Regions from separate parts of the Homo sapiens genome. Here region 1 is linked to region 2. The links are contacts of gene promoters, found by promoter capture Hi-C in blood cells and fetal thymus (Javierre and others, 2016). All regions are on one chromosome and are shown on one strand. The core of a region is centred on a gene start or on the middle of the fragment in contact, and the rest is flanking DNA. Distances in the headings are between cores, read along the strand shown.

Region 1 (6,081 bases), core at 3,582-6,081, 240 kb after region 2:
ATCTCAGTGCGTGCATCAGGGACAGACACCACCCCCAGGAGCTCCTTCCCCACTGGGAGACCCCCTTTGCCTCCTGGAGCACCACTGTCTCTGCTCTCATTAGATGGGTACTCTACCCCTGCTCCGAGCTCACCTTCACTGTGATAAGATTCTGTGGAGTATGGCTGGAGCCATGGCTCTCTTCCCAGAAATTCAGTGTTACCTGGAACTTCGGTGGGGGGCCCAGGCCCTGAAAGTACCTGACCAAGTCTGAAAGAGAAAGGGTCAAGGGTTCGAAGAACAAAAAGAAGAGAGAGGGCCACAGGCAGGGAGGCAATAGTGAGGAACCCATGATGGAGAGAGGTAGGAGGGGGTCTTGCCAGAGCAGGAGCTGCAAGGTCAGAAGTACTTGGAACTAAGTGCTACTCACCCATGTGCAAATAGGAAAGGGTGCCCCTGCCTCATATAAGTGCTTAGAAGTAGCAGATCACAGCACAGCCCGACAAGCTCTCTGCTGGGAGAGTTTAGAGTCCTCCCAGGTAGCAGCCCTGGCTGCTAACTCAGATGTGCCCAGACCTTTGCTACTTGCTCACATCCTCCCAGTGCTAGGGCACCCATGGCCCTGGGAACACCCACACTCTGCACCCCCTGTACACCTGGTCCCACTCTTAAGGTCAGGTTTAGAATTGAGTAGGAGCTGGAATTGGATGGGAGAGAAGCGCAACCCTAAGGCATGCCTGGAGTGTGGTAAAGACGGTGCAGCCAGGGCCAGTGTGTGTGATGTGTGCCAGCTCTCCCAAATGTGTGTACGTAGGAGAAGGCCATGAGGCTCAAAATCTCTGTGCCAATTCTTCTGTGCACCTTCACATAGTGACTGCATGCTTCAGTGTGATGGTGTTCTCCAAGATATGACACTCTTGTGCTGGGCTCTACCTGAACCACCTCTTCCATTGTCTTGGCTGGAGGAGAGCTGCCAGGTAGCTGCCAGGCTGGGCATATGGCCACACAGGATATGCAACACACAAGCGCAGGAGTGCCATGCATAGGCTACATGGAGGATCTGCTGGCAGATAGGGAGGTAGCAGGACCCAACAAGTTGGGCCCAGGGGGTACTAAGAGGTAGGGGGTGGAAGCTCATGTGCCCAGAGAGAACAGCCTCACCTCTGCAGAAGTAGGCGGTTCTGAAGAGCTCCACGCACTCGTTGCTGGGCAGCAGATGCGGGCCTGGCCCAGGTGGAGCCTGGGGTGCATTCCAGGAGATGGGGATGGGGCAAAGGCGCTGCACGAAGAGGCCTCGGGGGTTGCTGGCCACTAGGATGCCCCTCTCAAGCTGGCTCAGCAGGCGCTGCGTGGGCTCCAGTGGGCCAGGCTTGGGGAACAGCACCTGCTCCATGCTGCTCTCAGAGCCTGAGGGCTCAGCCACAAGGCGGCAATCCAGGCTTTGCACCTGGGCCTCGCCCACCACGCGCCCGTTGTAGATGAAGGTGAGCAGCAGTGAGTAGTCTGGGGATAGAACAGCCCTACCTGGTGCTGGAGGAGCATGCAGGCTGGCAGCAGCCCCTCCCCAGGGGAACAACTCCACCTCCCCTCCCCACACCAGCCAGGGGGCTTCCTCTCAGGTTTTCCTATCACTGAGGCAAGTAGCTAGTATGTGATTCACCATGAGGCCTCAGGGCTCAATGCCCAGGGGCTTGTAGTTTACTAGAAGGTCCCTTGAGATTGGGCCTCTGTTTGGCCCAATGAAATCAATGTCTCAATGTAGATTTCCAGGAGAGTGTATAGGGTGGTATTTTTGGGAAGCAAGCTTTTTGGAGTCTGGCCAGGCATATGGAATTCTCGCCACCTAGAAACCACTGCCTAGGGCTATGGTAATGTGGGTACAGTTTGCTGTAAGCCCTGACTGACTAGATAATGCATGCATAGTCAAAGGTGGAAGACCTCAGGGGCACAGGGCACAGGAGAAAGTCAGAAATGCCACGTACCTGGCTCTGGAGGAAGCAGAAACTCCAGGGACCTCTGATCCCCTTGAAAGGGGGCCTCAGTTGTGTCTGTAACTGGAAGGGAAGCAAAGGCACTGGTCATTCAGAGTGGGACTGGGGAGTCTTGGGCCAGAGGGTGTGGCATGGGGGACGACACAAGAGGCAGGGCAGGTGGTACCTTCCTGTGGCTCAGGGCTGCTGCTGCTGCTGCTGCTCCCAATGTCTGAATGGACTGCTCCCCCACTGGCCCCCTCCTCCTCCTGCGGACACAGTGTCTTTTTATTTTTTTTCTCTTTTTTTGAGACAGAGTTTCACTCTTGTTGCCCAGGCTGGAGTGCAGTGGCGCGATCTCGGCTCACTGCTATCTCCGCCCCCCGGTTCAAGCGATTCTCCTGCCTCGGCCTCCTGAGTAGCTGGGATTACAGGCAGATGCCACAACGCACAGCTAATTTTTGTATTTTTAGTAGAGACGGGTTCTCACCATGTTGGTCGAGGCTGGTTTCGAACTTCTGACCTCACGTGATCTGCCAGCCTCGGCCTCCCAAGACACAGTGTCTTTCATTGGCCCACCTCTCCCTCTGGTTACTGTCCTGCCCTTAGGCCCACCCAGTTCCCTCTCCATCTCTTACATTATTGAGGGAGTCCTGGAGCACAGAGGGACTGAGTGTGCAGTTCTGCATGGCATCCTCTTCCTCCTTCCTCTCAGAGGACACAGAACTGTGCTGTCGCTTTGATGGTACTTTCTGAGTCCCTGGCTGGCCTGTGGAATTGTTGAGGGACAGAGAAAGGTCAGGGTCTTGAGCAAGGACAGAGGGTGAAGGAGAGGTCTGAGGCAGTGAAGGATGGGCAGGTCTAGGAAGGGAAACCTGGGTTGCAGCCCCCCAAGGGCATGGACAGGGCAGAGCTATAAGCCTGGGGGAAGCCTGCACATCTATCCTTCCTCCCCAGTCTGCTGAGTCTAGCAGTGGTTGGACAAGGGGAAACTCACCAGAGACGATTCCTGGTGGCAGCAACTGATACACCTTGTAGGGCTCAGCAACATCCATGCGGCCCCTCTCAGGAACCTCCTTAAATTCAGAACTCTTGTTGAGTGCACAGCGCAGGCGAGTCTTCCAGACAGCTGGACCTCCTGTGTCCCCCTCCTTATACTTTCCCTTAAATATTGCCCAGGCCTAGGAAAGAAAGCAAGGGAAGAAGAGGCAGTGTGTTACAGGCTCCACCTGCCCCTCCAATAGGACTGGCTTTACAGGCGTGCAGCTCTGAGCTCAGAAGGGATTATGCAGGGTCTGTGCTCTGCGTTGCCATCTTGAAATCCTTGGAAATTTTTTTTTTTTTTTTTTGAGACAGAGTCTCACTCTGTCACCAGGCTGGAGTGCAGTGGTGCGATCTCGACTCACTACAACTCCACCTCCCTGGTTCAAGCGATTCTCCTGCCTCAGTCTCCCGAGTAGCTGGGACTACAGGCATGCACCGCTAGGCCCAGCTAAGTTTTGTATTTTTAGTAGAGACAGGGTTTCACCATGTTGGCCAGGCTGGTCTTGATCTCTTGACCTCGTGATCCACCCACCTTGGCCTCCCGAAGTGCTGGGATTACAGGCGTGAGCCACCGTGCCTGGCCAATATCCCTAAAATTTTTGAACAAGGCCTCCACATTTTCATTTTGTACTGGACTCTGCAAATGATGCAGCTAGTTTTCCTCTCCAATCTGTCCCTTATCTGAAACCCAGGCAGACGCAAGTGCTCGAGGATGAGTGTACCAGTGTGTATACACCATCCCACACACAGAGGAACAGTGGTTTCCAGGCCCTTTCACCTTGAAGAAGGCAGCATCCTGGTCCTCCCGGAAGTCCTGCTTGCCTGCATGTTTCCAGGGAATCCGGAACATGGTCTTAGCTGTATCATCCCAGCACACTCCGGGAAACTGCCCACTCTCCACTTGCTCCACCACCCAGTTCCGGAGTTTTCGGGTGCAGCGTGCCCTGCCTGATGCCATCCTGGGGGATAATAGGAGCAGGATGCATCAGAACTGACACTTTGGGAGGGAACATCTCCTGAGACCCTGGCCATTGAGACTAGATTCTGGCAACAGGTCCCAGAGATCCCATCCATCTTCTTTTAGCTCCAAACACATTTCAACACTCTATGGGACAGAATTGTTTCCTTTCTGCCATCACTAGCAGTGACAAACAACAACAACAACAACAAAACCCCCCAAAACATTGTTTTTAGCACTCTAAGCTGTGATACCTGGAAGGAAACCTTGGGCACTGGTCTTAATTTTAGGACTTTTCAGAGATGTATTGTTTACAAAAGAATTCCTTTGGTGATCGTTCCTGGTGACAGGCCCTGTCTAGATTCCCGAGCATCAGCAGAGGTAGGTTCTGCTGAGATCCATCAGGCTCTTCACCCACCGCCCCACAGCCTACACAACCTAGCCTGACCCCCACCCCCTGCCGGCCCCAGGAGTAGGTGGGGCAGGAAGTAGGGGTGGGGTTGGAGCTGCAGCAGAAGTGGGCAGGGCCAGATGGCAAGGAAACAAATGGTCCACTGAGGCTGGGGCCAGGAGCCTTCTTCCTTGAACAATCCAGCAGTAGGTCCTCCTGACCTTTGCCTACAAGGGTCTGGGGAGCTGGCCCTTGTCAGTCTCACTCTCAGGCTGAATCTCCCACTTCCTGACTTAAGAGATCTTCTGTCTATCCCTCAGTCTAACAGAGCGACCCCTAGGACCCCCTGCCCTCAATCTGGCTGGACTTTCTAGCCCTAGATCCCAGGCTGACTCCCATCCTTGGCTGATCTTACCTGAGTTGCTGTCCAGGCTGTCGCAGGGCTCAGACGACCTCAGCTTAACTCCTGGCTGGGCGGCTGATCTCTCCGCCCCTTTCTACAGTCCCCACCCTAAGTTTCAGTTCTCCTCCAGGGAGGGCCTTTTCCCAGAAATCACGTGGTCTGAGTTGCAGGGAACTGGCGGCCACTAGAGGGCAGCAGCATCTGAGCATCTCACTATCAGGATGCCACTGTCGCAGCAGGGGGGCCCTGCCCTGCTGGCTCAGCTCCAGCCTGGCTCATTCCCCTGCCTCCCTCAGATACTCTTGCTTCTATCTGACCTCTGGGTGACACCGTGGCTTCCCCAGGGAGGCCAGTTTCCTGGAGTCAGGCCTGGGACCTCTGGACTGCTGTGTACACCTGTGCATCTGCATTCCCCCACAGTGCCCACCTGATACATATTGGGTGACTTCAAATACCAGTCAAATTCTATGAAAGGAAAAAAGGAGGCAGGGAGGGAGGAAGCCCAGGCCAGGCTGCTGGATGGGGAGGGCCTCCCTTGACCATCCAGGGTGTCAACTCCTTCCTGGTCCTGAGTCCAGGGAGGGTCAGGCACTAGGTTGCAGGGGGCCCTTTTCAGCAAAGCTCTGTTCACCCCGCTCTTTCCCTGGTGCCCCTAGATGGTGGCACCAGGAAGAAGGACCACCAAGAAGCCTGGGTGGTAAGATGCCTCTTTATTGGTGCTGGAGCTGTTCCTGAGGGAGCAGGCCATGGGACCCTCATCGGGACCCTTGCCCTCAGCTACTTCCGCCTGCGGGGGATACTCTGTCCCAAGGGTACCTCTTCTGTCAGCTTCTGCAGAAGGAGAGAGAAGGTAATGATATTGGAAGCCTGGAGCTCAGACACAGTCAGCACCAGGTGACTTCTGTAGGGTGGGTTAAGAGATGAGGCTGGGTGGAGGCTATACCTGTAACAAGCGGGCCTGGTAAGCAGGGGGATCCTCTCCAGCCAAAGGCTGGGGGCGTACGTGCAGGTAGCGCTCAGTGGCCGTCTCCAGCTCTTCCACCTCATACAAGGTGGCTGGGTCCAGCGAGTGGGCATTGATGAGGCTCACAAGATACTCTTTGTAGTGTGCCCTGGGGAGAAAAGGGAGCAGAATATTTGTTGTGTTGGCTAATATTAACTGAGTGTGTCTAACATAGCTGGACTCTGAGACACCTGGACGAACAAGATTAACAACCCACCTGTGCCCACACTGCCTGCTACTATCTACCCATGCCCTTGCCCAGAAAGCCTCCTCCCTCCCACCCACTGCAAGACCTACTGCTCCCAAGGACCCATTTTACTGCCTGGGCATGCC
Region 2 (5,994 bases), core at 1,985-4,484:
GTAGAGGGAGAGAAGATAAGGAAACAACAGGCATTTACAGCCTGAAAATACCTGAACAGCTTTCCTGCCTAAAGCCAACCCAGACCTTCTTCCTCCAAGAGGAGAAAAAGTAGAGAAGAAGAGGCAGGAACAACTAACAACTAGGTAGAAAGATGATACAGAAGAATAGAAAAGGACACAGAAAAAGAGCACTGTATTTGTAAGAATATATTGTCCAATACCCACAGGTCGTTAGTCAACTTGTAAGTTAAATAAAAGCATTTATATGACATATTTTAATATTATTCTGTACTTGTCAAGGTGCTTTATTACTTAACACCTAACTTAGGGTTCTCCTTTCTCATAAGTCAGTTATCATTCATTGTCTACTTTCCAGAACCACCCCAATTTACACTGCAGGATACTCAAAAGGCTCAGAAAACAACAACAAGAAACTCTGGAATTGGAAGTGAAGGGGAACATGAAAAACCAGGTTCTTTGAGGAGCAGTTAGATCTGGGAGCCCAACCACTCCCAACACACATACACACACACACACACATTCACACACATTCACACACATTCACACACACACATTCTCTCACACACACACACACACACACACACACACACACAGGCTTGGCAAGTAGCTTCCCGCTCACTGGAGGGCTGTTCTCCAGGGAGTACAAAACAAGGTCTTAGGAGTCGAGGTTGATCAGCATAATCGAAGGTGTGAGCACCACACAAAAAAACATGGAGGGAGTGAGGAGGGCCAAAGAATGATGTATACAATGCAAGCTAAACGCAGAGAAACTCATTCTTCCCACTCAGAGATTTGCTTGGCAGCCAGACCCTGACCCTCCAGGCCAGGGAAGCAGGCATACATTCTGGAAAACCTGGCCAGCCCAAGAGCAGAGACTTAAAGATCACAAAACGGGGTCCCTAACCAACAGCACCTGCAAATCTCTGTACAATCAAGCTCAAAACCAACAAGTCTTGCCCACAGCCTCCACTCCCAATCAGCTTTTTGTCCTTCACTCTTTATCATGCAAGGATTATCAGGCTTGTGAGGAAAACTTCTAATGTGAAACACAGAGGACAAACCATACAGGAAAACAAAAAAGCAACCTGAAAGAAGAGAAACTAGGGGGGAGAAGAAAACTTCAAAAAGCTTACTATCATTTCTATCCTCAGAGAGGTAACAAAGAATATGGTAGACACTAAACAAGAATAGAATACATACGTTTCAAATTGGATTTAAAAAGCGTAGGATACTATTTTTTAACAGAGAGAATATAAGTGACTTCTAGACATTAAAAATTTGATGGCAGAAATGAAAGACCCAAGAAAAGGCTTCAAAGATAAAATTAAGGAAATCTTCAGAAAGCAGAACAAAAAGTTAAAGTTGAAAAAGAGGAGAAAACATAAGAAAAGCAGAGGACTTCCAGAAAGAGAGGACAGAGATAGCACAGGAGAGGAAATCATCGACTAAATACTTCCCCACATTTCCCAGATCTGAGGAACATGAGTGTCCAGATAGAAGGCCCCCTAAGTACAACAAGAGTGCCTGACAATGGAGGAAAACAGAACCGCACAAAGGGGCCTCACTGGGAGACTGCAGAACATTGGGGAAAACTGACAACTTCCAGAGAAAAAAACATCTCACACAAATGACCAGGGACCAGAACAGCTTCAGGCTCCTCCAAATGGAGCACAACCCTCACATTTCTGAAGGAAAATAATTTTCCTTTTATAATTCAATATCAGCCAAGCTCTCAATCAAATATCCTTTGGCTATGCAACGTGGACATGCAACCTCAGCATTTTTCCTCCTGTAAAACTTTTCCCGGGAAGCCACTGGAGAGCAGTTTTCCAGCAAACCAAGTAAGAAAGAAGCAAAGACCATCTCCAGGATGACGGTGAAGAGAAATCTCAGAATTTATTCATCCATTCGACAAATAATTCTTGACTACATGCCAGGCACTGTTTTAGGGTGACAATGGTCATTACACAGGACAGCTAGTTCAGATTGGAGGGTATGACTCAAGAGACAGGCATGTTGAAAGCAGGCATCTGCATACACTTTGCTGCTGCACCATCTTTTTAACTTGAGGCTACAGAGGGATGTGTTCCATCAACCCAAGAAAGAAAAAGTTTCAAGGTCCAGGACATGAGTATCTAGCAAAGAAAAAAGGCAAAGGATGCCAAGAACGACAGCTGTGTCAGCCTGGAAAGCAACTGACCAGACAGGAGAGACGGCGCCAAGAAAAAATTTAGAACCAAAAGAACACCTTGAACTGATAGACTGACCTTGTAGAAAACTGTACTGAGAGGCTACTGGAAGTGGTAAGAATTAACAATAGGTACAAAGAAAGGCAAATTGAAAAACAAGGAGTGCTTAACCTCAATGACCTCAGTAAAACCCAAAAAGTAAGAAAGAAAACAAAATCATAGTACACTTCAGTGCTTCGATGTGAACGCTATGTGCAAGGCATAATGAGGCAATGCTAAACGTAGATTTAGCAGGTAATTGAAACAGAACTATCTTGAGAAGAGGGGCTGGCCGTGAAAGGGAGCTCAATCCTCACATACGATAATGGGACCAAAAAAAGATAGCAGCAAACGTCAATTAATTAAAAGACAATAGTGTCTACATATTCTTTTAGAAATGTGGAGATGCGTAAATGCCAGAGCAAATACTGTCAGTGGGGATGGTTACTGAAGGAGGAATTGGGAGGGCCGGGGCAGGGAACCTCTGTGTGCTCTTCTAAGCCTTTTGGTAAAATTGGACTTTTCAAATGTGTATTACTTTGATAAAAGAAAATTTAAGTTTAAAGAAAAAGAAGTATTCAGTGCCCACAACACAAGCAGGTGTCCTGGTAAATGTTTAACAATCAGCTGGGGGTGGGGGGTAACCTTGATTTGTCGCATTTGCCAATTTCTGTGGCATAAATACTCCCACCATGGCTGTAAATACTCCTCCACTCACTTGCACAATTCCCGAAATTTTAACAGTGGGTCCATAGGAGCCAACTCCAGGCACTGACCGCAACCAACTCTCAGGGTACTGCTCACAGTTAGTGTGCAGCAAAGATAGTTCAACTTCCATCTGACAGCCAAGCCAGATGTCAGCAGGCCACACCCTGTCCCAGAGCTCCAGAACCCAGTCTCCAGAAGGTACTCTTGCCCACCACCACTGCCTTTAGGCTCCCCATCACCTCCCGCAGTGGTCACCTCTCTTCTCTGCCGCCCACCCCATCCTCACCTCACTGCCAAAGGGGAGAAGGGTGGAGCAGGGCTTGTCCCGGGCCTCTTCTGATCATTACTAAAACCCGCCTCTCCACTCACTGATTTCACCTCAGAGAGGCCTCCCCAGTGTTTGTTTTGCTGCCTGGGTATGTGTTTCACAGTAATGTCTTCAGTGTTCTTTAATCCCACCACAACAAAACAATTTTAAAGCACTCAAGATTTACAGAGATTTTCCTGAGAAACCAACCACATAGAAACACACTCAGGCCCTTCTCTAGATGAGCCTGTATCCTTCTCGACCCCTCCTCCCCTCAGACCCCAACAAGCCACCCTCACCATCAGCCCTCCCCCAGTCCTGCAACCTGTAGTCTCCCAGAGTCCTCTCTGCCTGTTGGCCTATGTTCAGTATGCCACTAACAAAGTGCATGATTCTGTGTCCCTACAGCTGAGATTGGGGCCAGCCACGCTGCCTCCCTATGAGAACCACAAGACATCCTTACACTTGGGAAATGTTCATGTGTCAGATCGCTGGACCTCAGACAGCATTTAATCCAAGACTTCCACTTTACAAACAGGGAGATCGAGACTCAGAGAGGGAAAAGGACTTGCTCAAAGTTACGCAGCTAGTCAAAAACAATAGTAGCTAACATCTATACTCTATAGCTCTCCACATTTTATAACAGTATTGTAACATGCATGATTTCAGCAGACTCTCACAAACTCTTCATGAACCAGGTATTATTATAGTCTGTTCCATAGATGAGGGAAATGGCTCAAGAGAGGATAAATTATTTGATCTGATCACCCAGTTCAGATAGTTAACAGGTAGCAAACCCCAGTCTCAAACTCTCCTCACCATACCCCTCCTATCTTGGTTGTAACTTGGTGACAGCATATCAAACCCAGATCCCCTAACCCCTGAGACAAAACTTTAACCCCCCCCGCCCCTCACCTTCCCTGTCCTCCTTCTCCAAATTGCCAACAAAGTCTCCTTTATGGTCATTGTGTAAAATAAGGCAGGGAGCTACCCAGAATCCCCTCACGCTGGGTTCCCACTTTTCAACAATGCCTTTCCCAAAGGGAAGACAAAGGGGGAGTGGAGGAACAGGGCTAGGAATCAAGGGAGCCACTGATTCCATTAGCTGGGCCTACAGTGGGAGCCTGAGGTGTGAGATCTGCGGTCCGAAGAACCCTGAAGCAGCAGAGGGAGACGGAGCAGGTAGGCCTGGAGAAGCCAATCCAGGATTTGAGCAAGGAGGGGGTGGCGGGGGTACCTCCGAAAGTGTGAGTCCTGGCCCGGCACAGTGGTTCATGCCTGTAATCCCAGCACTTTGGGAGGCCAAGGCGGGTGGATCACCTGAGGCCAGGAGTTCAAGACCAACCTGGCCAACATGGTGAAACCTCATCTCTACTAAAATACAAAAATTAGCTGGGCATGGTGGCACGTGCCTGTAATCCCAGCTACTCAGAAGGCTGAGGCAGGAGAATCACTTGAACACAAGAGGCAGAGGTGGAGGCTGCAGTGAGCCAAGACCACGCCATTGCACTCCAGCCTGGGCAACAGAGTGAAACTTCATCTCAAAAAAAAAAAAAAAAGAAAAAGAAAGTGTGAGTCCCCTAAGAGGGTGAGCTGCTGCCTTTCAAAGTAACAAAAAGATTAAGAACCCAAAGAACCCAAAACACTCCTCTTGTTAGCCTACCCTACCCCGGCTTCTAAATGTCTTCCTCTCAAGGCCTCCAGTACATATGTTCTTTGGGAAGACACCCCTTCCCCCTCCTAGCACCTCTGTCAAAATTGGAAAAACTGCTGACCTAGCAGCTCCACAGAGGGGTTGAGGGAGGAACTTCCCAGCCTGCCTGCCTACCAGGCTGGCTGGCCGAGTTCTGGGCCTCCCCACCCATGGCCTTGACCAATTAAGATATAGGTATAAACCCATCTGCAGTAGGTGTGCGTGGTGAAGGGGAAGGTGGTCTGGGGCAGAGGGAGGCTGTGGCATTCCTACAAAGAAGAAGTAAGATAAAGGAATCTAAGGGAAGAGGTAAACCTTGGGGGACAGTGGAATCTGACAGGCCCAAGGGGAGGAAAAGCTTGTGAGAGAAGCCAGGGAGATTGCAAGAGAGGCGCACTGTGATCTGGCCTGTCCAAGGTCCAGCCCCACATAGCAAGCCCTTTCATCTGAAAACCCATAGCCCTCCTCCCAGACTCCCACCCATCTCCAAGGGCTGGGAATCTGGGAAGAGGGCTGCACCCCACTCTGAACCCCTGCAAGAAGCTGAGTGGCATCAAGAGTGTGGGGCAGGGAGCCCAGAGCCCTGGGTTCTGGTCCAACCCCCACCACCTCACCTACCTGACTCTGAGCACTCAGCCAGGCCCCTTACCCTCTCTGGCCACCAGTACCTCATCTGTAAAATGCCAGTATCACTCTAGAAGCATCTCTAAAGGCCCCTCCAGTCCTAGTACTCAGAGGCTCCAAGGGGCAGCCCAGGATTTAAGGAGACTTAAAAGGAGACAGAAGGACCTGGGCCTTTCAGTCTTGGTGGAGAACAAAGAGGTGTGTTGCAGAGGCCACAGAAATACAGCGCCTTGAGTTGCTCCCCAGATGGAAAAGTGGGACTGCTGATGCTGGGGCCCTGGCCAGGGAAGTCTCATGGGGGACACACACCGAGGAGGTGCTCTCAGTGCACTTGAGGGACAGAGGTGACACGTAGGGAAGGGGTGGGGCAGGAAAGGAAGGAACCAGAGGGAAGAAGCGGGCATGGAAGGAGC

The links. Contacts are between HindIII fragments. The CHiCAGO score rates a contact against its expected background, and 5 or more counts as called.
Region 1: a contact is called between the fragment with the promoter of IRF9 here and a fragment that was not itself captured in region 2, in 1 of 17 cell types (activated CD4 T cells). The highest score is 5.7, in activated CD4 T cells.

The regions. Positions count from the first base shown.
Region 1 is chr14:24,160,015-24,166,095 of GRCh38, reverse strand. IRF9 (interferon regulatory factor 9) reads right to left here and starts at 4,831. Exons shown (of 9, transcript NM_006084.5): 1 at 4,758-4,831; 2 at 3,772-3,952; 3 at 2,947-3,130; 4 at 2,588-2,718; 5 at 2,137-2,218; 6 at 1,962-2,033; 7 at 1,141-1,482; 8 at 134-249. The coding sequence starts at 3,951. It overlaps RNF31 (ring finger protein 31), which reads right to left. Exons shown (of 21, transcript NM_017999.5): 20 at 5,689-5,857; 21 at 5,441-5,576. The coding sequence ends at 5,523. RefSeq lists enhancers at 3,666-3,725, 4,715-5,104. The HindIII fragment of the contact is 4,395 bases long and covers 1,786-6,081 here.
Region 2 is chr14:24,399,615-24,405,608 of GRCh38, reverse strand. The region is part of intron 2 of NYNRIN (NYN domain and retroviral integrase containing); the gene reads right to left. Among named protein-coding and RNA genes, the nearest start is that of NYNRIN, 3.6 kb to the right of the region's middle. The HindIII fragment of the contact is 4,166 bases long and covers 1,152-5,317 here.